4 separate regions of the Homo sapiens genome follow, and regions 1, 3 and 4 are each linked to region 2. The links are contacts of gene promoters, found by promoter capture Hi-C in human tissues and cell types (Jung and others, 2019). All regions are on one chromosome and are shown on one strand. Each heading gives the region's core, a stretch centred on a gene start or on the middle of the fragment in contact. The rest is flanking DNA. Distances are from core to core; before and after follow the strand shown.

What was found. The method cuts DNA at HindIII sites, captures the fragments that hold promoters and counts their contacts. A contact is called where the count stands out against the background at its distance.
Region 1: a fragment that was not itself captured here is called in contact with the fragment with the promoter of METTL9 in region 2 in 1 of the 25 tissues and cell types used here (lymphoblastoid cells).
Region 3: a fragment that was not itself captured here is called in contact with the fragment with the promoter of METTL9 in region 2 in 1 of the 25 tissues and cell types used here (lymphoblastoid cells).
Region 4: a fragment that was not itself captured here is called in contact with the fragment with the promoter of METTL9 in region 2 in 1 of the 25 tissues and cell types used here (dorsolateral prefrontal cortex).

The regions. Positions count from the first base shown.
Region 1 is chr16:22,879,037-22,885,299 of GRCh38, reverse strand. The region is part of intron 1 of HS3ST2 (heparan sulfate-glucosamine 3-sulfotransferase 2); the gene reads right to left. Among named protein-coding and RNA genes, the nearest start is that of HS3ST2, 68 kb to the right of the region's middle. The HindIII fragment of the contact is 5,375 bases long and covers 1-4,528 here.
Region 2 is chr16:21,595,007-21,601,160 of GRCh38, reverse strand. It overlaps METTL9 (methyltransferase 9, His-X-His N1(pi)-histidine), which reads right to left and starts at 1,584. Exons shown (of 5, transcript NM_016025.5): 1 at 1,263-1,584. The coding sequence starts at 1,427. It overlaps LOC101927814 (a long non-coding RNA gene), which reads left to right and starts at 1,776. Exons shown (of 3, transcript NR_110930.1): 1 at 1,776-2,505; 2 at 3,402-3,527. RefSeq lists an enhancer at 305-869 and a silencer at 978-1,597. The HindIII fragment of the contact is 5,713 bases long and covers 340-6,052 here.
Region 3 is chr16:22,969,442-22,975,822 of GRCh38, reverse strand. No RefSeq gene overlaps it. Among named protein-coding and RNA genes, the nearest start is that of HS3ST2, 160 kb to the right of the region's middle. The HindIII fragment of the contact is 6,084 bases long and covers 1-5,269 here.
Region 4 is chr16:22,763,213-22,769,476 of GRCh38, reverse strand. No RefSeq gene overlaps it. Among named protein-coding and RNA genes, the nearest start is that of HS3ST2, 48 kb to the left of the region's middle. The HindIII fragment of the contact is 7,746 bases long and covers 1-6,264 here.

The DNA of each region.
Region 1 (6,263 bases), core at 592-3,091, 1.3 Mb before region 2:
ATTGCATTGACATCTGAAAGATTTTTCTATATTGGAGGCTTACAGAAACAAAGTTGGGGCAAGACTTTTTCTTCTAAGCCACCTCTCACAGATCCTTAAAGAGGGAAAACGGGGGATGGGGGAGGGGTGGCAATATGTCACATAAGAGTGAAAAATGTTGGCTGGGAGCGATGGCTTATGCCTGTAATCCCAGCACTTTGGGAGGCCAAGGTGGGTGGGTCACTTGAGGTCAGGAGTTCAAGACCAGCCTGGCTAACATGGCGAAACCCTATCTCTACTAAAAATAAAAAAATTAGCTGGGCGTGGTGGCACGTGTCTGTGACCCTAGCTACTCGGGAGGCAGAGGCATGAGAATCGCTTGAATTGGGGAGGTGGAGGTTGCAGTGAGCTGAGATCATGCCAGTGCACTCCAGCCTGGGTGACAGAGTGAGACTCTGTTTAAAAAAAAAAAAAGACAGAGAGGGAGAGAGAAAGAAAAAAGAGTGAAAAATGCAGTGGTTCAGGGCTGAAACGCTACAGGTCAAAAGGAGTGATGGTCAAGATAGATGTCTAGGTGGGATCAGAGCCTGACTAACTTTCTACAAGGGATAAAACTGAGAGTAGACATATATATATATATATAATATATATATATATATATTTTTTTCTCTATTTTGCTGATGGGAAAACTGAAATTAGGGAAGTTACCCAAGGCCATCCAGTTCAAAGGTGGCAAAGCAAAGGTTTGAACCCAGAAGCTACAGGACCAGTCCCAGGGCTCAGGAAGAAGAAGACAGAATGTGAAGCTCCTTCTATTATGGATAGAATCCTGTGATGAGAAGTTACGGAGAGTCCCGCAAACACCCGCATCCTCTCCGTAAACTATTGTAAATGAAGCTTCTGCTTTTCCTTCTACCTCGGCAGGAGCTCAATTTGGAGTCAGAAGAACCTGGGTTTAAAAGTCAGCCCAACCTCTAACTAGTGTGTTCTTACACAAATTATTTAACCTGTCTATTCCTTGGGTTCCTATCTATAAAACAGAGACAGTAGCAGTAATAATTCATAGGGTTGTCACAAGGATTCAATGAGATAAAATGAGATGCATGATATCATGTGAAGCCCCAAGAATGGTCCCTGACACATAACAAGCACCCTGTAGGTATCAGATGTCAAAATTCATATTTACAAGTGAATTCCAGTGGAATCTGGGTCAAGCATAGCTCAATGCCTTTCTTGACCCTGGGTCTTTCCCTTTTCCTCTGTCTCTGTGACTTGCCCATTGCAGAAAAATGATAGAGCCTTTATCCTCAGTGGGGCAGGACCGAGTTGTTTTGATTTCTAGAGGTGGGTCTGGAAGCCACATTTATGATTGTTCTCTGTGAGGCCCCAGAGAGGGTGAGGGAAGTCTAGATCTCCTCTGTGGCTGGCTGGGTGGGTTCCCCAACTTTTCCTTCAGGCAGATCCCAAAGTCAAGTTTAAGAGGTGATGAGTAGCTATGGAATGCCTAATTTTGGCCTTGGGTTCCAGATTCATTCTTCAATCTAGCTTGATGAGGAATACAAGTTAAATTATATTTTAATTTCCATCTGCACCTATTTTTTTAACTTAGTTTAGAACCAGAAAGTGAAGAGAAGCATTAATTGTTGACTTCAAACCTCAACCGAAGGGAAGTGTACAGTTTAGCCATCGTGTAATATTTTGCCTTCAATCCAAAAAACCACAAAAAACAAAAACCAGTTACATAGTTATTATAGCCACTAGAGTGACTTTCTAAAAGAGCTCACTTTATTTTTTGGATTGTGCTAATTGTGGATGCCTGGACTTCCTACCCACCCTACATAGCACAGACCCAATTTCTCTTCCACATAACAGCTTTTCAAATACTTCTATCTTAGATAACTCTTTTGTCCCAGAAAAATATCTCCTATTCATCCAACTGTTTCTCATTGGACCTGTTTTTTAGTTTCCTTGCCATTCTGGCCTCTCCAATTTTTTCTGGCTGTCTCTGAAAGGGTTTAAACCCTCAGACTGAGTTGCAGGGCTGATGTTATGGACAATAGTTGTCTGATACAGCTGGGCTGGTGGGACACTTCCTGAGCTTCTTTACAATCATTTTCTTTCATCTTGTGGTTCTCAGAGGCAAGAATGGCTCATGTGCTTGGGAATTGGCATCTGCTGGCACTTTATAATATTCTGCAAGCACTATAAAGTGATCTGAATTTTCCCCAAATGGAGTATACAGATAGCAGGAATGTTGCTATGGTCTGGGAATCTTTTTTTTTTTTTTTTCTGAGATGGAGTCTCACTCTGTTGCCAGGCCAGAGTGCAGTGGCACAATGTCAGCTCACTGCAACCTCTGCCTCCTGGGTTCAAGCGATTTTCCTGCCTCAGCCTCTCAAGTAGCTGGGACTATAGGCATGCACCACCACGCCTGGCTAACTTTTGTGTTTTTAGTTGAGACGGAGTTTCAACATGTTGGCCAGGATGGTCTCAATCTCTTGACCTCGTGATCCACCTGCCTCAGCTTCCCAAAGTGCTTGGATTACAGGCATGAGCCACCCTGCCCAGCCTCTTTTTTGTTTGTTTGTTTAAGATGGAGTCTCACTCTGTCACCCAGTCTGGAGTGCAGTGGCACAATCTTGGCTCACTGCAACCTCTGCCTCCTGGGTTCAAGCAAGTCTGGCTCAGCCTCCTGAGTAGCTGGGACTATAGGCGCATGCCACCATGCCCGGCTAATTTTTTTATTTTTAGTGGAGACAGGGTTTCGTCATGCTGGCCAGGCTGGTGTCAAACTCCTGACCTCAAGTGATCTGCCTGTCTCAGCCTCCCAAATTGCTGGGATTACAGGCATGAGCCACTGCACCCAGTGATCTGGGAATCTTAATGCAGCTAAGTTCACTCCCTCACTGATCTCCAAGGTTCTCTTGGAAACCCTATGTATATCATTTTTTAATTTTTTGAGATGGGGTCTTGCTGTGTTGCCCAGACTGGAGTGCAGTAGTCTAATCACAGTTCACTGTAGCCTCAACATCCCAGGCTCAATTGACCCTCCCAACTTAGCCTCCCTAGTAGCTGGGACCACAGGTGTGCACCGCCATGCCTGGCCAATTTTTAAACATTTTCTGTAGAGATGAGGTCTCACCATGTTGTTCAGACTGCTCTCAAATTCCTGGGCTCAATGGATCCTCCCACCTCGGCCTCCCCAAGTGCTGGGATTACAGGTGTGAGCCACCACACCTGACCTTGTGTATCATTTTTAAAATGTGATGTAAGAAATAAAGATTTCATGCAAAATTTCTCAGTTATAAAATTTTGGCAAATTATTTTTAAACAACATCAACAGCTACAAACAAACAAACAAACATGATAAGAGCCAAATAAACTGTGTCTCCTGATGCTTCAGGCTACTGTCTGCAAATCTGAAGCCTGCATGCCTCAGCCACTGGCCTATTCTTCTTTCTTTTGCTGATGTTTACAAAGGACCTGTTCGATTCCAGGCACCTGAGAAAATGCTGGGAGAAGAGAAGTGAGCAAAGGACCCACAGTTCTTGTCCTTGTGAAACTTGCCCAGAATTAAAGTAACCTACGAGCCTTTGTCATAAGTCTCTTAGATGCTGTGAAGAGTCTTCTCCAGCTTTCCAAGGCCCCCAAGTACCCTCCTGCCCTCACCTTGCTGAGAAGTTAGGATTCTGTCGTGAGAGTCATCTTCCCTTATGTTGACCTCTTTGTTCCCATTCCTGTCAGCTTCCTGCAAGCTCTACTTTCTCTCAACTGGCTTCTTTTGGCTCTTTCCATTCCAATATGGCTTAATGTGGATTTTGGGACCCTCTTTAGAGCATGGAGCCCTCTGGAGACTGAGAGGAGATGAGGAAACAGGAGAAGGGGTAGAGACCGAGCAAGAAGCAGGACCCAGGAGAGCCCTTGGAGCCTGAGGTGACCATGTGGACTCAGCCCTGTCTCCTCCTGACAGCGCAAATGTCTGCTCCACACAGCAGCAGGCAGAGTGTCCTCTCAACGCTCAGCAGTGGAGGAGGAAGGGAAACAGCATTTCACAAATCACCTGCTGAAGTCAAGAAGTGGTCAGGGGCATCCCTAGGTGTTCCTTTTAACTCTGTCAGCAGCCCTACAAGACATGTGCTGTGATTATTTCTACTTTTCAGACGAGGGAAGTGACTTTAGACGAGGGAAGTTCTTTCCCAGAATCATAGAGCTAGTAATTGGCAGAGCTAGAATTTGAATGGAGATCTGTCCTTTGGTTGCAAGTGATGGAAACTCAGTTTAAACTCTCTCAAACAACAAGGGAATGTATTGCCACACATACTTTGAAAGTCCAGCGATGCATCTAGTCTCAAGCCCATCCAGATCTAACAGCGTTCCTGGGGCTCTCTGTATCCATCACTCGACTCTGCTGTTCTCTGTATGTTGATTTCATTTTGCAGATTTCTCCCTTCAGGTGACTGGCAAAGGTGTCTATTGGCACCTGGGTTACATAATCCTCACAGCTTGATCCCAGAGGAAAAGACACTTATTTCTACCAGAGTCCATAGACCGTATCTTAGGGAGGTTTGGATTCACCCATTTTGAGTCACATGCCATTCCTGAAGAAATCCCAGCAGGCAGGAGGCATGGAGTTCCCTGAGTGGTCAGCTCAGGTCATGAGCCCATCTCCATGGGGGGAGGGCAGTGCTGTACACTCCTCAGCCTGGGCCACATGGCACAAAAGGCTTCCTAGAGAAAAATCAAAGTGGTACCAGCCAAATAGGGGATCGAATAGGTAAAACAGAAAATATAGACAACAGATGTATATATCTGGGTGACAGAGTACACATTGGTTGTCTATACTTTGTTACTGAAGGTTTTTTTCCCCCAGTTTTTAATTTTAATTTAACTTTATTTCATTTTTAGAGACAAGGTCTCACTCTGTCACCCAGGCTGGAGTACAGTGGCATGATCATGGCTCACTGCAGCCTCAACCTCCCAGGTTGAAGCGATCCTCCCATTTCAGCCTCCCATGTAGCTGGGACTACAGGTGTGCCACCACACCCAGCTAATTTTTTAATGTTTTTTAGAGATAGGGTCTTGCTATGTTGCCCGTGCTCATCTTAAACTACTGGACTCAAGTGATCTTCCCACCTTGGCCTCCCAAAGTGTTGGGATTACAGGAATGAGCTACTCCCGGCCCCCACACTTTTATTGGAAAGAAGACAAATCAAGATAGGAGAGTTAGCAGCTATGAGTCTTTCCTCATGTGGTTTGATTACTCTCCAATACCTAAGTTAGCAGAATGTTCTTCAATAGTCCCAGAGGCTGAGCTCTGTGCTTTATGGAGATTTGTGCATTTTCAGAGGCTTCTTGTTCTTTCTCACCATGACTAGCCCAGTCTATAGTTGGAAATCACAGTTTCCCTCCCAAGCCCCTGTGTCCAGTCTGGGGTTCATGGTCATGAAAAATCCCCATGCTTTGATGGCAGAAGGCAGAAGTGACTGCCTTATCTTCTCTGGGGGCCCAGGGAACAATTTCAGACACAAACATATTGGAGGAAGAATTCAGCAGTGGAGTTGGTACCTCCAGATTAATTTACACTCCAGCGGCCCCCAGAGAGGCTGACAGACTGATGGATGGCAATGCCTGCTGGGTGTGCAGCCGCATTAATGCTGCCAGGAACTCAGCTCATTAGCTCCGAGCTCCTTTCCTTCCCTTGCCACACCTCAGACACAGCTAATCTCATGTAAAGTGGGGCCAGCTCACTCGGGTCACGTGCACTCAGTGTCCGATCCCTGAGGTGGATTTCCAACTGGGATGCCCCCCAGCAGAGTGTGCTCATCACCCCCACCCCATCCACCCTCTGCCTTTATCCTTCCAAGGGCATGGTGCAGAACACCTGGCAAGAACACAGTCCTCAGAGGAGCTCAGTTACCTTCCCCTGGAGAGCCCAGTAACAGTTCCGAAGGCAGGAGGGCTCGTGATACCAGCAGTCCTGCCTGCGGGGCCTTAGCTGTTAGAAAGCTCTGGAAGCCATCTACAAGACACTGAAACACCTGGTGGATTCTGTTGGAATCCAAAGAAATAATCAGTGAGACTGGTTATTTGCTCAGAAAACAGAGCCTGAGTTTGGGGTTGTGTAGACAGAGATGCTGGGTTGGTGACGACATTGACGACATAGCACTGTTGCTGAGTTTGCAGCCAGAGCCCAGGCAGTCTGCACAGATGGCCCTGGCACTGATTTATGGAGATGGGTGCTCAGCTCATGAAAACAGAGCATGAAGCGGCCAGCTGACCTTTTA
Region 2 (6,154 bases), core at 335-2,834:
TACTGATATTGCACCTAACAAACTGCAATGGCTGGAGGCTTTCAAAAAAATTTACAGAAATTTAGGATTCCTTTAACAATAGAAAAAAGCCCAATATACATATTACTAAAGACTAAATGCTACTTTTCTAAATTGCTCTATCTCCTTCTTAGACAATTCTCTACCCTCATTAAAACACATGAAATCAACCTGGGTGTAAATTCTCTGAACACCTGGCATAATAAAAAAGTAATGTAGGAAAATGAGAAATATATGAAAATGATGAGACACAAGATGATATAGGGAATAATTAATACTCTATGGAAAAGCAAAATGTATTATAAATGCTAGCTATGACAAGCCAACACTCTGGCAGAGTTCAAAAGCCTCTTTTCAATGAATTTAACATTAACTGCAAACTATGTTAAGGTCATATACGAAATATCTCACTTAATTCTACAGTTAACCTGTACACGTTTAAGTGGCGCAAGACTGAGCTAATGAAAAGCCTACCTACCCGGTCACAGCGTAACGCTCACGATGCATAACTAAAACTCCCTCCCGTCCCGTTCTGTTTTAAAAACCCTTCCTGTAAAACTTGCATAATCTTCCTCCTCATCACACACAATCTTTCTAGCAGGCTGACTAAATCCAAGTTTAAAGGAGATCTCTGCTAGGTAGGAGGGGAAGGTTCCGTAGGATGGGAGCGACAACCTGTCAAACCCATTTTTTAAGTGCTTAGGGAGAAATGTCACCCCAATCAGCCTGGAGAGTTCAATGGCTTGCGATGTACAGTTACATTTCTTCACGACCCTTTGTACGTTCTGGGATTCAACGAGACAACAAGAGGGGCTGGCTTTTCGTTTTGTTTCTCGGGGTAATGGATCTGGCCGGGTCTCTTCAGTCTCAGGCCTCGGTGCCAGGCGGGCGCCCCCAGCCACGCTCTGGCCCCAAAGTTCCCCAGTCCCGCTGCCGGGCGTCCGCAGTCACCGCCCGGGACCCAGGAACAATGCGGGGCTCCGGGCCGCTCACGATCGGGCCCGGGAGGCCATGCCCCGCCTGCGCTGCGGAACAAAAGGCGCTCGCGGGGCCGCGGCCGGGTGCCCGGGGCTCGCGGAGTCGACGCCCGGCGGGGAAGGCGCGGGGAAAACTTTCCAAGGGGCCGAGGCGGAGGGGCGAGGGCCGGGCCGCCCCCTCGCGGAGCCGTCCCGCACAATAGCCGGGCCCAGCGCGGGAAGGCCGGGCCGCCACGCCCCCGCCCCGGCCCCGGCCCCAGCCCGTACCTGGTGGTTCTCCTTCCTGCCGCCCGCGGCCGCCGCCGGCCCACCCGGGCCGCTAGTCATGTTCACGTACAGGGAGCGGGTGAGCGGGCTCCGCAGCGTCCACATCCTCCGCGCCAGCCACACGGACGCCAGGCTCAGGCACAGCCAGCCCGCCAGCAGTCTCATCGGGGGCCGCGGCCGCTCGCTCGGATCACCGCCGGCGCCGGGGCGAGGAGGAGGAGGCACCGCCGCCTCCGGCCACCGCCGCCACCGCCCGAGCTCGAGCCATCGCGGCCGCCTTGCCCATCCAGCCCCCTTCAGGGCAAAGGCTGGGGGTGGGGAGGAGCAGCCGGCGCGCAGCCTCGGCACCTCCCCCTTCCCTTCCGGCCGCGGAACGCCGCTGCCCCCTGCACCAGTTTCCATCCGGAGCACTTACGAGCGGCCGCGTCGCTTTCTCCCCCGGCGCCCTCCCTCCGTCCAATGAGCGGGCCGCTGGGAGGCGGGACAAAGGGAGCGCGCATCCGCCCGGAGCGCGTTCTCGTGTCCCGGCCCTGCCTTGGCCTCTAGTAAATGGCGGAGGTGGTTTTAATTTTTTTGAGGGCTGAGGAGATCACTTCCGAAGGCGGTAACTGCAGCCTCCCTGCCCCTCCAAGGTGGTGCTGGAAGGACCTCCAGTCTTTCCTCGCCTCATCCCACTCCACGGCGGGACTTTGACAGGGTTACCTCTCGACCCTCATCCCACTCCACGGCGGGACTTTGACAGGGTCGTGCAGTTAACCCCGGGGGCGCAAAGAGGGGAGTCATTCCTTTCGTGCATCCTGACACACACAGGTTCTTCCCGGAGACGAATGGTGCCAGTGATGGTTGCCCGCTCGGATGCGTAGTTTCCAGTTTACATTTAGAACCGACCTGCCAGACTCCCTCCTCTACTCTCCCCACCACCACGACCCGCCTGCCCCGTTCCCCAAGCCTGAGAAGTTGCTGGCTACGTGTTTCTATAAAGAATGAGTGAAAATTCTGCCTTTTGGGGAAGCTACCGCAGCTGGGGTACCCACAAGTAATGTTTTAGATGTATTGATGGCCCTGCCCAAGAATGAAGACCTCAAGTTAGACTCCTTGGCTGCCTTGTTTCCTTGAATTAGCACAGGGAAGTTGGACCCAACACTCTTAAGAGTGAACTCAGCTCTGGGAGCAGTGTTTAACCCGGATATTTATTTGATCATTTATAACACGAGGAGACCTAGCAACATTTCAGAACTGAAGGGTTAGTTACACTGTGTTCCTGTCTGCAGTTCTTCCTGCTATTATCCAAGCCACAATTAAGGAGTAACATTTCGTGGGAGTCCCTAACTTTAATACTTTCCTAGGTTTGTTTGGAAAGTGCTTTTAATTTAACTGCACCAGAAATAATGTAAATGTGTCTAAGTTCAAAACAAAAGAAGTAAGCCTTTTGGTTAATTCAGCGTTGCACATCAGAGATTTTCATTTATGAAACAGTGGGGTGGTGAGCCACAGATGGGGAACAAAATCATTCCTTACCCAACAGCTTTTTTTTTTTTTTTTTTTTGAAACGGAGTGGAGTCTCGCTCTGTCTCCAGGCTGGAGTGCAGTGGCTCGATCTCGGCTCACTTCAAACTCCGCCTCCCGGGTTCAAGCAATTCTTCTGCCTCAGCCTCCCGAGCAGCTGGGACTACGGGTGCGCGCCACCATGCCCAGCTAATTTTTGTGTTTTTCGTAGAGACGGGATTTCACCATGTTGGCCAGGATGGTCTCCATCTCTTGACCTCGTGATCCGCCTGCCTCGGCCTCCCAAAGTGCTGGGATTACAGGCGTGAGCCACCGCACCTGGCCCAACAGCTCTTTCATTAGCTTTTAAGAATCTCAGCTTGGCACCTTTGGCTAACAAGGATATCTTGTTGCCTAATGTAACAGGCTGTAACAACAAACAAAAAGGCACAGGGTGGGTGGGGTTCGGTATTTTGTGTTCTCTCTTTCCAATATACTCCCTGACTGCTTCCTGCCAAAACCCCGAAAAGCCCAAGCCTTACTAAATCTAGTTCAAACCTCTAGTGGTCCTGGCCCAAGTCATCAAAAAGGAACTATGGTAGCAAGTCCAATAACTGTTTATTTACTATGACACCTCTCCTTCCTGTCTCTTAGGATCAGTGTAACAGACAAAGCAACTCTGTCACAAAAGGAAGCCTTCATCTTTTTAAAGTGGGGGTGAAAGCAGCAGGAGTGCATAAAATGGCATATTTCCTTTCTGAAGACAAAGGAGACAAAAAGGTATGCCCCAGCTATAGAGTGAGACCACATAGCTGTAGCTGAGAGACTGCAAAATGTTATCAGATGAACAAGCAAGTAGATGGCTGCTGTAGTCAGAAGGATTTTGGGGTCAGTTGACTGCCACGAAGCCTAACAGCTCAAAGGAGCAGATTTTGTTTTATATCTGAGCAGCTGGCCTAGAAAAATAAATCACTCATACATTTAAAATACTCTATAATAACCACCAAACACTCAAACCCATGCTATTTACATTTAGCAGGCACAGGAAGAAACCAGAGCATCCGATGATCAAATGATTTGCCTGAAGGTAGCAGAGTAAATTCAATAGCTGACCTTTTCATAGAACTTGGTATCCCAGCTCGTGGTCTTTCGATCCATCTAAGAAGCTTTGCTGTCTCTTCTCAGAGAGCCTCCTGAATTACAAATGAGGAGAAACGAAAACAGCAAGAGTAAATATACGAAGCAGAAGTTCAGATTGCCCACTGGGGACAGCCCCCTTCCTTCATCTACTAGAATGTCACTACCGTATATTAAAACCTCAATTCTCCATAATGGAGACGGGAAGGGGCAAGATGACACAAAAAGCCAAATAGCCAATACTCGTTCTAACATGATCTTGAGATGCAGTTAGTAATATTCAAAAGATACACAAATGACCCTCTGCACCGAACTCTGCTCATTGACCCCAGGTGTCCCACTTGGGTCACAGCCCTGTACACAGGCCCAAAATTTTGGCGGGATCACTTTCCTATCTAGATCTCTAGGCAAAGGCTTTTTGTTATTGTTGTTCTTTGAAGTTACAAAGCTTGGCATTTTCATATTCTCTTTTCAATTACAAAGTATCATGTTAAGAGAATCCACAAGCAGAGAGTTTGGATCTGTACAAAACCTATTGATGATTGTTATCTCCTTGAAGAGATAATGATTTAAAAAGAACTCATATAGACCAGGCAGGGTGGCTCATGCTTGTAATCCCAGCACTTTGGGAAGCCAAGGCAGGTGGATGGCTTGAGCCCAGGAGTTCAAGGCCAGCCTGGGCAACATGGAGAAACCCCGTGTCTACAAAAAATACAAAAATAAGACAGGCGTGGTGACATGCACCTGTAGACCCATCTACTCAGGAGGCTGAGGTGGGAGGATCACCTGAGCCTGGGAGGCTGAGGCTGCAGTGAACTGAGATTGTGCCACTGCACTCCAGCTTGGGTGACCCTGTATCAAAAAATAAAAATAAAAATAACTCATATAATCACTTTTTTTTTCCCGAGATGGAGTCTTGCTCTGTTGCCCAGGCTGGAGTGCAGTGGCACGATCTCGGCTTGCTGCAACCTCTGCCTCTCGGGTTCAAGCAATTCTCCTGCCTCAGCCTCCTGAGTAGCTGGGATTATAGGCACCTGCCACCACGCCTGGCTATTTTTTGTATTTTTAGTAGAGATGGGGTTTCACCATGTTGGCCAGGCTGGTCTCAAACTCCTGACCTCGTGATCCGCCTGCTGCAGCCTCCCAAAGTGCTAGGATTACAGGCGTGAGCCACTGCACCTGGCCATAATCATGTTTTTATGGACAGATATTTTTTATGCTTCTTAATATTGTTTTGTATACCTTCAGAGAAAGATACAGCTTTTTCCCAGTATATTCAATAGAATGTGTCCTGTAGTTATTAAGCAATGAGCACCTCTAACAAAATTAGCAAATGTACTCAACAATTTGTTTAATTAATTAACGTAGGAGATCTTTATCTGAATTTAGTTGATACAACTTCAATCCTGTGCAATGATATCACTGTGGGCTCCAGTTGATGAATTCTAAGTCAAGGCAAAACTGCAGACAGCTTTGAAAAAAAAAAAATTAGTAGCCTAGGCCAGGCACCATGGCTCATGCTTGTAATCCCAGCTACTCAGGAGGCTGACACAGGAGAATCGCTTGAACCCAGGAGGCAGAGGCCGCAGTGAGCTGAGATCATGCCACTGTACTCCAGGCTGGGCAACACAGTGAAACTCCATCTCAAAAAAAAAAAAAAAAAAAAAAGCCTCAAGTAGCAGAATTGAACCAGGGGTTAGAAGATGTTAGTAGTTGGCCAGGTGCGGTGGCTCACACCTGTAATCCCAGCACTTTGGGAGATTGAGGTGGGTGGATCACAAGGTCAGGAGTTTGAGACCAGCCTGGCCAACATGGTGAAACCCGGTCTCTACTAAAAATACAAAAAAAATTAGCCAGGGGTGATGGCCTGCACCTGCAATCCCAGCTGCTCATGAGGCTGATGCAGGAGAATTGCTTGAACCTGAGAGGTGGAAGTTGCAGTGAGCTGAGATCACACCACTGCACTCCAGCCTGGGTGACAGAGTGAGACTCCATCTCAAAAAAAAGAAGACGTTAGTAGCAAATACAAGTAACATCGTGTGCTTCATTGGAGAACTCCCAGTGCTACTCATTAGCATGGTAGTTTATCATCTGCACTTTGAGCCAGACTATCTGGGTTTTAAGCTGGGCTCTATGCTTCTTGATTATGCAATTTGAGGCAAATTATTTGACCTCTACATGTCTGTTTCCTCATCTGTAAAATGGAAATAATAATAATGGTTACCTATTTCATAAGGATGCAGTGAATATCATGTTATATACTATAAATA
Region 3 (6,381 bases), core at 978-3,477, 1.4 Mb before region 2:
ACATCTATGATTCTCAGCACCGGCTGCACATAAGAATCAACCGGAGAGCTTTTACGACCACTGATGTGTAAGTCCTACCCAGGACCAATTAATCAGGCCCAGAGGATTCTAATGTGCACCCAGGGTTGAGACCCACTGACTTGATCAATGCTCCTGGTTAATGCTTTTTACACTTTGGTGTGCTGGAGGATCACCTGGGGGTTCTTGTTAAAAATCAGTAAGTCTGGGGAGGGGACTGAGATTCTACATTTCAATGCTGCTGCTGTTGTTCTGGGAATCACATTTTGAGCAGCAAGGGTCTGGGAGAGTGTTTTCCAAATTTTCCATATGATAAGAGAATCACTTGTTTTTATCAAATATATAAATTCAGTTGTAATTTTTAAAAGACCACCTAAATGAGAACAAGCAAAGGATATTTATTTGGGGCTTGCTCCAGCAAGGGAGTCAGCCATCCTCACTTTTGTTTGGTAGAGGCTCAAAGGTAGGCAGAGGAGTGGGGAGGCTGTAGAGGCGGGAAGCAGGGGAGACTTCAGGTGTGCCCTGAGTGGAGGCTGCTGGCCAGAGGAAGCTAGAGGCAAGTTAACTAGGGGCAGGAAATCCTATGTGATTTGTTAGGGGGCATGTTTGACTTTCTCTGGTTGGTCTTAAATTGGAAGCAAGGCCAAGAATTAAGGAAATTGGGCCAGGTGCAGTGGCTCGAGCTTGAGTTCTCAACACTTTGGGAGGCTGAGGTGGGAGGATCGCTTGAGCCCAGGAGTTTGAGGCCAGAATGGGCAACATAGTAAGACTCCCATCTTTACAAAAAATAATAATAAATAAAAAGAACTAGGAAAACTGTCAGTTATTGATTAAGTCCTGGTTCGTCTGAGCCGATGGCTACAGGAGTTGTTGTTTGGCTTCCTGGAGAGTTTGCTACAGAGAATGGGTCAGAATTCAATTTTTATTATGGTCTAGCCTTTGTCCACCTGTATATTCAGTCTCTCAATTCCCAGAGCTCCCCACTGGACTTTCTGGTTCAGAAGGCCTGGGTGAGGGTCTAGGAATCTCCAGGTGATTCTTATCATCAGGAAGGGTTGGGGGGAACCCTGATGGAAACCAAGTAAATTAGAATCACCTGGGGAGATAAGTTAACAGTAGCTACCCAGGCCCTACCCCAGACTTCATGAGTCAGAATCTCTGGAGGCGTCGCGAGGAATCTGTCTGTTCCCTCTATCAGTTGTGTCTTCCTGACTAACCACTTTGAAACAGTGGGTTAAAACAACAATAGTTTATTGCTTTTCATGTTCTGTGGATCTTCCCCAGTTTAAAGACTCTGGGTTGCACCAGCAATTGTGGATGAGCCCCATAATCTACAAGCCCCAGGTCTCCCTCAGGAAGAAAACTTTGTAAGTACTTGGGAGCCATCAACAAATTGTGTTGAAGTAGGGCCATTCAATGGTATTTTGGCAGGTTTTGAATAGCAAAGCTTAGTGATTCCCACGGACTCTAAGAGGGAGTTTCTTTGAAAATGATGCAGTAGCTACAGGTGTTTAATTTGCTGCATGATACCTACTCTATTGGGAATGATGTAAATATTTGAAGTTTTTGAACGATAGAGGTTGTGAGGAGATATATTTCAAATAAACACTAATAATGATAGTCAATATTTCTTGAATGCATATAAGGTGCCACACAGTGTTCTGAACACTTAATGTGTAATCTTCATGGCAGCCTGTTGAACTAGGTCCCATTTCTCAGGTAGGGACACTGAGGCACAGCGCGATTAATTCATTTACCTGAAGTCATAAAGCCAGGATTTAAACCCAAGTGGTCTGACTCTACACTCAAATATACTGTATATCCCACATACACTCAAATAAGAGAAATTAGTTCTTTCTGAAGCCCCAAGTGTAATATCTCTCACTATGTATTGCATAAGTTGCAGGGAAGAGGTTATTTTGCCTGGCCTGACTGGCTTAAACAAGTAGTCACTAGTCAGGCCACAGAGGACTGGTTAGTGGTCTCAGTCTTGTAAAAGAAATTACCTCTTTTTGCTGTTCACTCTTCAGCCAGAGGGAGGCTGGCTTTCTAGCTCTCTTCCCCACATCCAGTGCTCTGTGATTGTCCAGACACTTAGGGCCAGCTTGACAATATAGAGATAATAAAAATAAAGCTGTGGTGAAAACAACCACATCATCAGTTGCTATGCCAACCTAAGTTGCAACCAAGGCTATTTCATGGGCAGTATTGAGGTAGAAAATGTTCTGGAGGCTAAGGTGGTAGAGGGCATTCAAAATTTCCCTCAATGTCTTTTGAGTCCAGTCTGCCCCAAATAGCCTTCAGTGGTTTACACTTGCCTTCAGGATAAAGTCTCCCTGCTTAACATACCTAAACACCATCTTCCCACTCCTTCCCACCCCTCTGGCTTCATCTCTTTCCATTTCATCACCAGGTTCTGTAGTCCTGCTAGACTGAGCAAATTTTGTTTGGTGTGTCCTTGCTTTTCATCACCTCCAAGTCTTTGCATATATTCTCTGCCTAAAATTCCTTTCCTTCCCTCTGTCCTCCTGCTTTATTCATCCTTTAAGCTCCAGTTTGTATGTCACTTTTTTCAGGGAACCTGAAAATATTAAGAACTGTGAAGGATCTGAGTTTTAGCTTCCTTGCAAGCTAACCTGTTAGTTGGCCATAACTTCAAGGATGCTGCAAAAGACATGAGACACCTGGGTCAGAGACAAAGGATAGTTTATGACTCATAGCAATAGCAGAATCCAGAATATCATCATTTTTGTGTTGGTTCTCTAAGCCCCAGTTCCAAAAGTGTGATGTGAAAAGGGAACCTGAATCTTTTTCTTTTTTTTTCTTTTTTCTTTTTTTTTTTTTTTAGAGACAGGGTCTTGCCCTGTTGCCCAGGCTAGAGTGCAGTAGATGTAATCATAGCTCATTGTAACCTCAAACTCCTGGACTCAAGCAATTCTCCTGCCTCTGCTTCATGAGTAGCTAGGACTACAGGTACATGCCCAGTTGATTGGAAAAAAATTTGTTTTGTTAGAGACGGGGTCTCATTATGTTTCCCTGGCTGGTCTTGAACTCCTGGCCTCAGGCAATCCTCCCACCTTGGCCTCCCAAAGCTCTGGGATTACAGGCATGAGCCACCATACCCAGCTGGAAACTGAATCTTCTACACTGGGCAGTGAGCATGCCTACCCATCACTGTAGAGGAAGATATCATCTCTATCTTTCAAGGTTGTTTTCCAAATATCCTTGAAAATATAGCCCAAGACAAAGGCAGACAGGCCCTCTGCTTTCGAAACATGCAGAAATACAAGAGATCTATGGAGAATTTTCTCCCAATAACTCTGGGTTCAATGTCATCTGCCTTGGTCCTCCCAGTTAATTTCATCTCAACTGTCCTTCACTTGACGGGGACTTTCCTTCATGCTCCTCTCTCATGGTCTACACCAGACTCCTTTGTAGTAACTTCTCATAGAATTGGGCTCTTGTCCTTCAGACCACTTATCTCAGTCTGTAATTATATGCCATTATGGAGATTATTTGATAAACATCTGTTTATCCCATTATGCTATATGCTTCATAAAGTCAAGGACTGTGTCTGTTTTCACAATGGTATCTGTGTTGTTCAGTGCAATGCCTAGTACACAGTGGGAACTGAATTCATGTTTATAGAAAAATTGGGGCTATTACATTGAAAAAGTAAAAATCATTGAGGGTCAGAGTAATCGAGGTGACCTGCCCGAGGTCCCACAGCTAGTTTCGAGTAACTAAATTCAAATTCCCTGAATCACAATCCATTTTCTTTTCCATCCATGAGCACTTAATCAGATTTTGTTTCCGCACAATGGTGGTGGTGGTGGCGGGGATGACAATTAGGTGGGGGCAATGGAAGAAAGGCACGAATGACTTGGGCATGGGTGAGGAGTATGTGACCCCTTTCGGAAAATAGTTGAAATTTTTCTCTCAATTATTCCTGCTCTGGGCTCCGCTGAGAACCAAAATTGGGTTAAGACTATTAGAAGCCTATGAGGCAGACAAATGAATGGTTCAGATTTCAGACTATTGTGGAGATCGTAAAAATAGACACTATTTATTCCTTGGGTATTCCCCTCCCACACTGACTCAGGGCTGGCCTGGTAACTTGCTTTGCCCCATGGACCATTGGCAAATATGACACAAGCAGAGGCTCTAAAAGCACTTGCTTATTGAGAATCTTCCCTCTCTTGTTCATCTTAGGACCCTGTGACACCCGTATGTGAATAAATCCAGGACAGCCTGTTGGGTGATGAGGGACACACAGCCAAGTCATTCCCAGCACCCTAGCCAACCTGAAGCCAACCCACCAAACACATGGATGAGGCCGTCCTAGACCATCCAGCCCTGGTAGAGCTGCCAGCTGACCAAAGAGATCAGCTGAGATGACCCAGACCAAAAGAACCATGTCACTTACATAATCATTAAGAATAATAAACATGCCATTTTAAACCCTTAAGTTTTGGGATGTTTGTTACATAGCAGAAGCTAACTGATAAAACCGCAATGCACCCTTGTTTAGGTTTAAATCCAAGCCTCATCATTTAATTGTTTAGCCTGAAAGAAAAGTTCTTTAACCTGCCTGTGTCTTAGTTTCCTCACCTGTGAAATAATGACAAAAATGGATTATGTAATTTACAGCATTCATGTACACAGTAAATGAGTTAATATTTTAAGAATTTTCAGAATGGTGCCTGGGATATAGTAACTGCTATACATGAGCACAGCTATCATGAAAGATGATGATTTCCACCACCTATGCCATGTGTAATTAAAACAAAAACTGCTTGAACAAAATTGGTAAATGTAAAGACCTCTACAAAGTTTTTCTGGAAATTATTGAATGCTAAGTGTCATAAGCATGCGCTCCTCCCTCGTTTTGGGTGCCATCCCCTGTTACTGATATCTTAAGTGTGTTCTAGTTTCAGGGAGCCCCAGCTGAGAGCCCCTGGGTGGAGGAATTCTCCATCTTCTGGCAGACATTAGGCTCCAGTCAGCCCCCTCCCTGCAGCAGCTGCTGTCTTTCAGCAGGGTTAATCTGTATTCAAGCCAGGGAGTGACAGCACAGAGCAAGACATTCAAATGCACATTGGAGACCCTGTGAAACCTGGTCTCCAGACCATGATCCACAGGGAGGGCAGGACCCTCTCTGCATTGACCCAGGCCTCTGCCCTCCTTCCTCAGGGGCTATGCTAATTAGAGGGGCTGCTCAGCTAATGGGGGTGCTCATTGGCCTGACATGCTCTGAATGCACAGCCTTGGAGGGCGCTCAGGGTTACAGAGACTAAGTCCTTTGGCCAGTTTTCCACCCACGCAGCTGATGAAGTCCTGTTTCTTTAAAATTTCCACTGAATGGTATTAATAGAAAGGGATGGAGGCATCTCCCCACCCTTGTGTTATGTGATATCGTGAAACTGTCCCATGGGGGGAGATGTCATTGTGAGCAGTCATCTCTCCTTGAGGCCTTTGGTTTACATCCAGCTCATTATTACTTACCAGGCCGCTGGTGTCCTGAAATGCTTAACAGAACAAAATATTACAGCATAAGAGAGGAAGATGGAGTGCTGAAAGAAATATTACAGACTGTTCTAGTATTTCTCAACCCTTTTCATTTTATATCATTTTTTTCCTCCTGGGCACACAGACTGTGGCATAGATAAAGGGTGTACAGGGAATGAATAAGAACACAGGCTTTGATGGCAAGCAGATTTGTGTCTGGGTCCCAGCTGAGTCACTTACTGGCTGTGTGAGTTGAATGTGCCACTTAATCTTGCCACACCTCAGTTTCCCCAACTGTAAAATGAAGATAATACCAGTTGCTACTGGGTAGGGTTGCTTGAGGATTGAAAAATAAAGCAGGTATTCTTTCCCAAACTTTACAGGCTTCAACTACTTTTAGATTCTGGAACATCTACCAGGTGCAATCCCTCCTTCCACCCACTTGATGGAACAATTTCATTCTACACAGGAGGAAACAAAAAAAACCTGAGATGGGAAGTTGGTTGTGCCAAGAATCACTGAGTCATTATGCTTTCCAAGCACCTGCCTTGTCACTCTGTCCGCCCTTCCTATTAGGAAACACCCCACAACCACGTGTGTTTTTCTGAATGCTGATCGGACCAGAGATAGACACTTGGCCCAAGGGGTGGCCCATCAGTTCTTGCTTTCAGGAATTTGGCCTGGGACATTAAGCTGAAGCTGAAGTGGCCAAATTGCATTTTGAGAGGTCATCACATTGAATAGGGCCCCTGCAAGGGAGAAAGTGTGTGTCATGAACAAGGGGCAGTTGTGGAGCAACAGGATTTATAATGTAAACTAAAGATAAAGTGTAGATGATGTGGACACTGGTGGGAA
Region 4 (6,264 bases), core at 1,898-4,397, 1.2 Mb before region 2:
CGTGGTGGAAAGGGCACAGACCTCAAAGTCAGACAAACCTGAATCAAGATCCTGAGTCTTAGTTCCCTCATTTTCAAAATGTGGCTGAAAATGTCTCCACCATAGAGTTATTAAGAAGGTTAAGTTATGTAATAGATATTAGTACCCTAACACAGTTGCTGGCACTGAGTCCATACTTGAGCAATTCCTGATCCCATTATGTTTCTGATCACCTGTAGGATGCTCCCACTTCCTGTAGGACTCAGAACTGATTACTTGTCCAGTTTACCACCTGTTGTCAAAATAACATGTTCTGCCTCCCAACACTCATTGCTGAGTCTGTCTTCCAAGGAAACTTTTATTCCTAGAGCTTAGATAAAGATATGAAGTGGCTTCCACCACTGAAAGGGGAAGAATGTGGGAGTAAGTAGTTGGATAGGCAAAGGCCTGCAGAGCCTCTGGAGTCTTGGGTAGAGAAAACAGGTTTTGTTAAGAATCTATCAGCGTGAGTCTGCTGAAAGATCAAGTCTGATTCTATATGTGTAGATTTCAATTATGCTTGGCCAAAATATTACTGATACAGAGAAAGTCCTTGTATCAGTTGCAACATTGAGTAAAAAGTCCTCAGAAGATCAACCACTTCCTTAGAAAAAAGGTTGCTCATGCCTGTAATCCCAGCACTTTAGGAGGCCAAGGTGAGCGAATCACAAGGTCAGGATCCTGGCTAAAACGGTAGCCTCTGGTCTCATCCTGGACTAACTCATCCCTCTGGGATCATCCTGGACAATGTGCGAAGCCCAAGCCCTGGAGGGCTGTCTGCAGCATGGGTGATGGTGACATGCTTCCGGTGGCCTGTGAACCTGTCCAGACCATCCTGGCTAACACGGTGAAACTCCGTCTCTACTAAAAATACAAAAAAATTACCTGGGCATGGTGGCTTGTGCCTGTAATCCCAGCTACTCAGGAGGCTGAGGCAGGAGAATCGCTGGAACCCAGGAGGCAGAGGTTGCAGTGAGCCGAGATTGCGTCACTGTACTTCAGCCTGGGCAACAGAGAGAGACTCCGTCTCAAAAGAAAAGAAAAGAAAAAAGGTTGGAGAATGAGCATATAATGTTGAAGGTGGTAAATAACTTTCTTTTTCTATTGTTCTTTTTTAAATTTTACTTGAAGTTCTGGGATATATGTGCAGAACGTGCAGGTTTGTTACATAGATATACATATGCCATGGTGGTTTGCTGCAGCTGTCAACCTGTCATCTAGGTTTTAAGCCCTGCATGCCTTAGGTATTCGTCCTAATGCTTGCCCTCCCCTTACCCCCCATGCCCCAACAGACCCCGGTGTGTGATGTTCCCCTCCCTGTGTCCATGTGTTCTCACTGTTCACCTCCCACTTATGAGTGAGAACATGCAGTGTTTGGTTTTCTGTTCCTGTGTTAGTTTGCTGAGAATGATGGCTTCCAGCTTCATCCATGTTCCTGCAAAGGACATAAACTCATTCTTTTTTATGGCTGCATAGTATTCCATGGTGAATATGTGCCACATTTTCTTTATCCAGTCTATCATCAATGGACATTTGGGTTGGTTCCAAATCTTTGCTATTGTGAATAGTGCCGCAATAAACATACATGTGCATGTGTCTTTATAGTAGAATGATTTATAATCCTTTGGGTATATACCTAGTAATGGGATTGCTGGGTCAAATGGTATTTCTGGTTCTAGATCCTTGAGGAATTGTCACACTGTCTTCCACAATGGTTGAATTAATTTACACTCGCACCAACAGTGTAAAAGGATTCCTATTTCTCCACAGCCTCACCAGAATCTACAAGGAACTTAAACAAATTTACAAGGAAAACAAACAAACAAACAACCCCATCAGAAAATGGGTGAAGGATATGAACAGATACTTCTCAAAATAACTAAGTATGAAGAAAAGGCAGGAACTGTAAAATAAAAAACTAGTAAATTTCACCAAATAAAAATTTTTTAATGTGTTCCAAAACATATATATGATAATATATAATATGTAATATTTTATCTTAAGAGCTAATATATAAAGAACTCTTACAAATCAATAAAATAAAGATCAACCTTCCCAATAGAAAAATGGTCAATGGACATGAAATATAAATTTATAAAAGAAATACAAACTGTTAATAAAAAATTCCACCTCACTCACTAGCAAATAAATGCAAATAAAACAACAAGATAGTATCCCCACCTATTAAATTGGCAAAGGTTAACCAGAAAAATACTAACCAATACTGGTAAATGTGTGGGAAAGTTGACATTCCTATATACTATATTTTTAGAAGTGTAAATATCTTTCCAGTAAGTATTAAAAACCATAATATTACACATATGTTTTGGCCCAACAACAATCATAAATGAGCACAAACATTTGGCTATTAGAATGCTGAATTGAAGCATTATTATTATTATATTAGTTATATTAGCAAAAAATTCTGCAGAAACAAGATAAATACAAAAAGAATATTAGTCACCTGTATTAATCAAACTCTGGTGCCTTCAAACAGCAGAAGATGATCCAGTCATTAAGAATGGAACTAGAGGGGGACAAAAGTGCCTGCAATTGACAATTCAGCCATTCAACTATGTTCATTCACTCAACAACAACTCACTGAGCACATACACAATATTCAGCACTGCTGACATCAAGATGAACAGAATACAATCCCTTCCATCAAGAAACTGCCATTTTATTGTGGGAGACATTTGGTTAATGATACACCAGAGGTATGAACGGAGTGTGGCCGTATTCTCTCCTCCCCCACCAAAAAAAAAAAAAAAGAGTCTATCCTGGCAAGTGATCCAGATTTCGAAGAATCAGTAGCAGCAATTAGCAGTTCTAAACCATGAGTTAATTGTTGAAACTCCAAGACCAAAAGGCATGTGTGTTAGTTATCTATTGTTACATAACAATATTATAATACCACCAACTGAGCAGCTTGAAATAACTCACATTTATTGTCTCACAGTTTCTGACAGTGGTTTGGTGTCTGATCATGGCTTACCTGGGTTCGCTACTTCAGAGTTTCACAAGGCTGCAGTTAAGATGTCAGCCAGCTCTGTGATCTCATCCAATGACTTGACTGGGGAAGAAGCCACTTCCAAGTTCATGTGGTTGTTGGCAGGATTCAGGTCCTTGTGGGCTGTTGGACTGACAGGCTTAGTTTCTTGCTGGCTGTTGGTCCCTCTTAGTTCTCAGCTGTTTGTTGGACAGGAGCCTCTCTCAGATCCTTGCTCATGGGCCTCCACAGCATACTCACTTGCTTCATCAAAGCCAGAAAGAGAGACAGTCTGCTAGCAAGACAGATGCTATGGTCTTCTGTCATATAATCATGAGAGTGTCATCCTGTCACCATGGCCATTATATGGGTTAGAAGGAAGTCACAGGTCCTTCCTATCCTGCAAGGGGTAAGATTCTACAAAGGCACCAGGAGGCAGAGATCATTTGAAACAATCCTAGAGTCTGTTCACAACAGGGTAAAGGAGAGAAACATTAGTTCCCTGAAGCTGAGTCACTGGGGAAGCCAAATCAAAGGTGTGGGTTGGGATGGAGAATTCCCCAAACTGAGGCCGGTGGCATTGTCTTGGCCTCACTGTCAAAAAAATCATCCCCAAATTTGCAAAGTGGTCCATCCCATGAGTTCTTCTAAGCATGAGTATAGTGTATCTGGGGCAGGAAGCTCAGACTCAAATATCCACAAGGGCTGAGCAGGTAACATAATCCATACAGTTCTCCTCTTAAAGGAAAGTTGGAGACTGCAGCAAACTGGGCCACACATGGCCCATCATAAAGGGACTGCTGCCAGGCAGCTCAAGGAGTTTGTTGTCTATGCAGGAATGCAGTCCTATTCCTGCCAGAATTTCTGACTTTACAAAGAAGCTCCTTAAACCACATTTGTCCATGAAATTTCCCAAAATTTTAAATTATTTGTGGGCTAAGGAAAACATATCTGCCAGCCAGATCCAGCTCCCAGGACCTCAGTTTCAGATCCCAACCTAGCAACCTATCCTGAATTTGCAAGGATACAGAGCAAGGCCACTTGCTGAATTTCAAGCTAATATTTTCCACTCTGCTAGCTCCTGGCTGTTACTAACATGTTCTCTTCCCTTTTGAGTTTCTAATTGTGTGAACTCCTCACATTCAAGGCAGACCAGCCTGCTGATTAGTTTTAAATTTCAGGAGCTTTAAAGTCTCCAAATTTGGAGGTAAGCGGACTCTCATTAAGAAGTCATTTGATAAAAATTAATCCCTCCAGGAATATCTTGGACTCAGAAGAAAGCCCCAGCTCTCTCATTAGCTGGTTTTAAGTATCCAGTCCACCTCGGAGGCCCCAATCCTCCCTGGGTTTGACTCTGGGGCTCCAAACAGCTGCCACTGTGTCTGGAGACCAGATGCCAGTGATTCTAAAATCACAGGAAAGGATGCAGCAGAACTTCGAACTCAAAGGCTACAGCAAGCCCCCTGCCCCCTGAGCCCAACTCCTCAGATTTAATCACTTCCCCTTGAGCCTGAGAATGAGGGGACAGATTTTCATCTTACTGAGTAGATTTCAGAGCTTACTTCGCCTAATCCTTGCAGATTTGTCACTGACCTAGCAAAGAGAATAACTAAATGAGTGTTTGGGGGTCACCACGGGGGAGCTCCTGGGAGAAGAAACATCCCTCTGGGCTCATCCTGGACAACGTCCGGAGCCCAAGCCCTAGAGGGCTGCCAGCAGCATGGGTGGTGGTGACGTGCTTCCAGGGGCCTGTGAACCTGTCCAGAACCGGCCTCAACTTTAATCTCTAACTAACCCAGTTATAAAAAGCTTTTATGTTAGTGAGTGGTTGTTTTGGAAGCAAGGTAGCTTTCTTATTTTTTTTCCTAAATGTTTCTATTTTTATTTTTTGAAAAGATAACACATGCACATGGTTTTTTAAAAAATGTAAACAGAACAAAAGGGAAGACCATGAAAAGTAAATTCCCCCATCCCTACTTTTGTATCCCAATTCCCCACCCCAGGGCAATTGCTGTTATAAGTTTCTCCTGAAGAAAGATGGATGTTTTTAAATTTTCTAATCTGGCCTCAAAAATAGCCAAAGGCCAAACACAGCCCACAATAATGTAATTAAAATGAGTGATGGAGCCATACACATGACATGTCACAGGAAGAGAAAGATCACAAACACAAACTCACACTCAGAGAGCACACAAAATCAGTGTGTGTGTGTGCAGAGTGTCTTTGTGTGTAAAGAGAGTGTGTGGGTGTGAAGGATTTGTAGGTATAGTGTGTGTGCACTTGTGCATATACTACTTGTGTGCCAGGGTGTGTGTGTGCGTGTGTGTGTGTTGCCCTCGTCTCTCTGAAAACTTCAGTCAATTCCATAAACATTTATTGTGTGCTGTGTGCCAGGCCCTGTTCCCAGTGCTGTGGGTTATACCAAGATAAATCATATAAGGTCCCTGGCTTTGGGGAGCTTACGATAAGAATAATTCACATTGGATTGGCCCCTTTCCCTTTACAGGGAAATTTTCAGGCGAGTTATGTCATAACTCAGGCTGGCTACAGCCCGAGGCATGCTGGGACTTAAGCAGCCAGGGCTGAGCTGGCAGGAGGGGGAAGCCCTGATGGGGGATGGGTACATGGAACCAGCAGCAGAGGCTGGGTCTCCGCAGACTGCTAAGGACCAGGGACTTGGGCCACAGGCGCCACCCCCTTGAGAAGGTTCAGATAGGCACCTGTGTCAAAAAGGCCAGATGCATGCTGCATTGGCCTGGCGATTCTGTTCCTACAGTAGCACTGCTTCATAGCCCAGCTCTGCCACTAATTACAAGTGTGATCCTGGGCAAATCGCTTAACCTCTGTTCATCTCTTCAACAGAGACAGATGATAGTTTCCTCCTCCTAGAGGTCATATGAGGATTAGTGAGGTAAGGCAAGCAAATACATAGCATGGTGTTACTCAGTAAATGCTCAATACAGGGCATCATGGCTGCTGTTATTATATTGCTATTATTCAACAACACAAAACTCTGAATCTCCACAATTTAATACAAGAAGGGGGATCCCCTGGTTTAGAGGGATGCCTGATCAAGGGCCCTTGAATTGAGCCTCTTAAATGTCACTTTCCATTTGAGGACCCTCACTCTGATTCTGGCTCTTGCTGCCTCTCCTGGTCAGCTCCAGCCCCAAAAAAGCATAATGAAAACAGGGCAGAATTTTCAAAAAGTTTTGCTAAATTTTAAGGCAAGTCAGCACACTGCTTACAAAGAATCT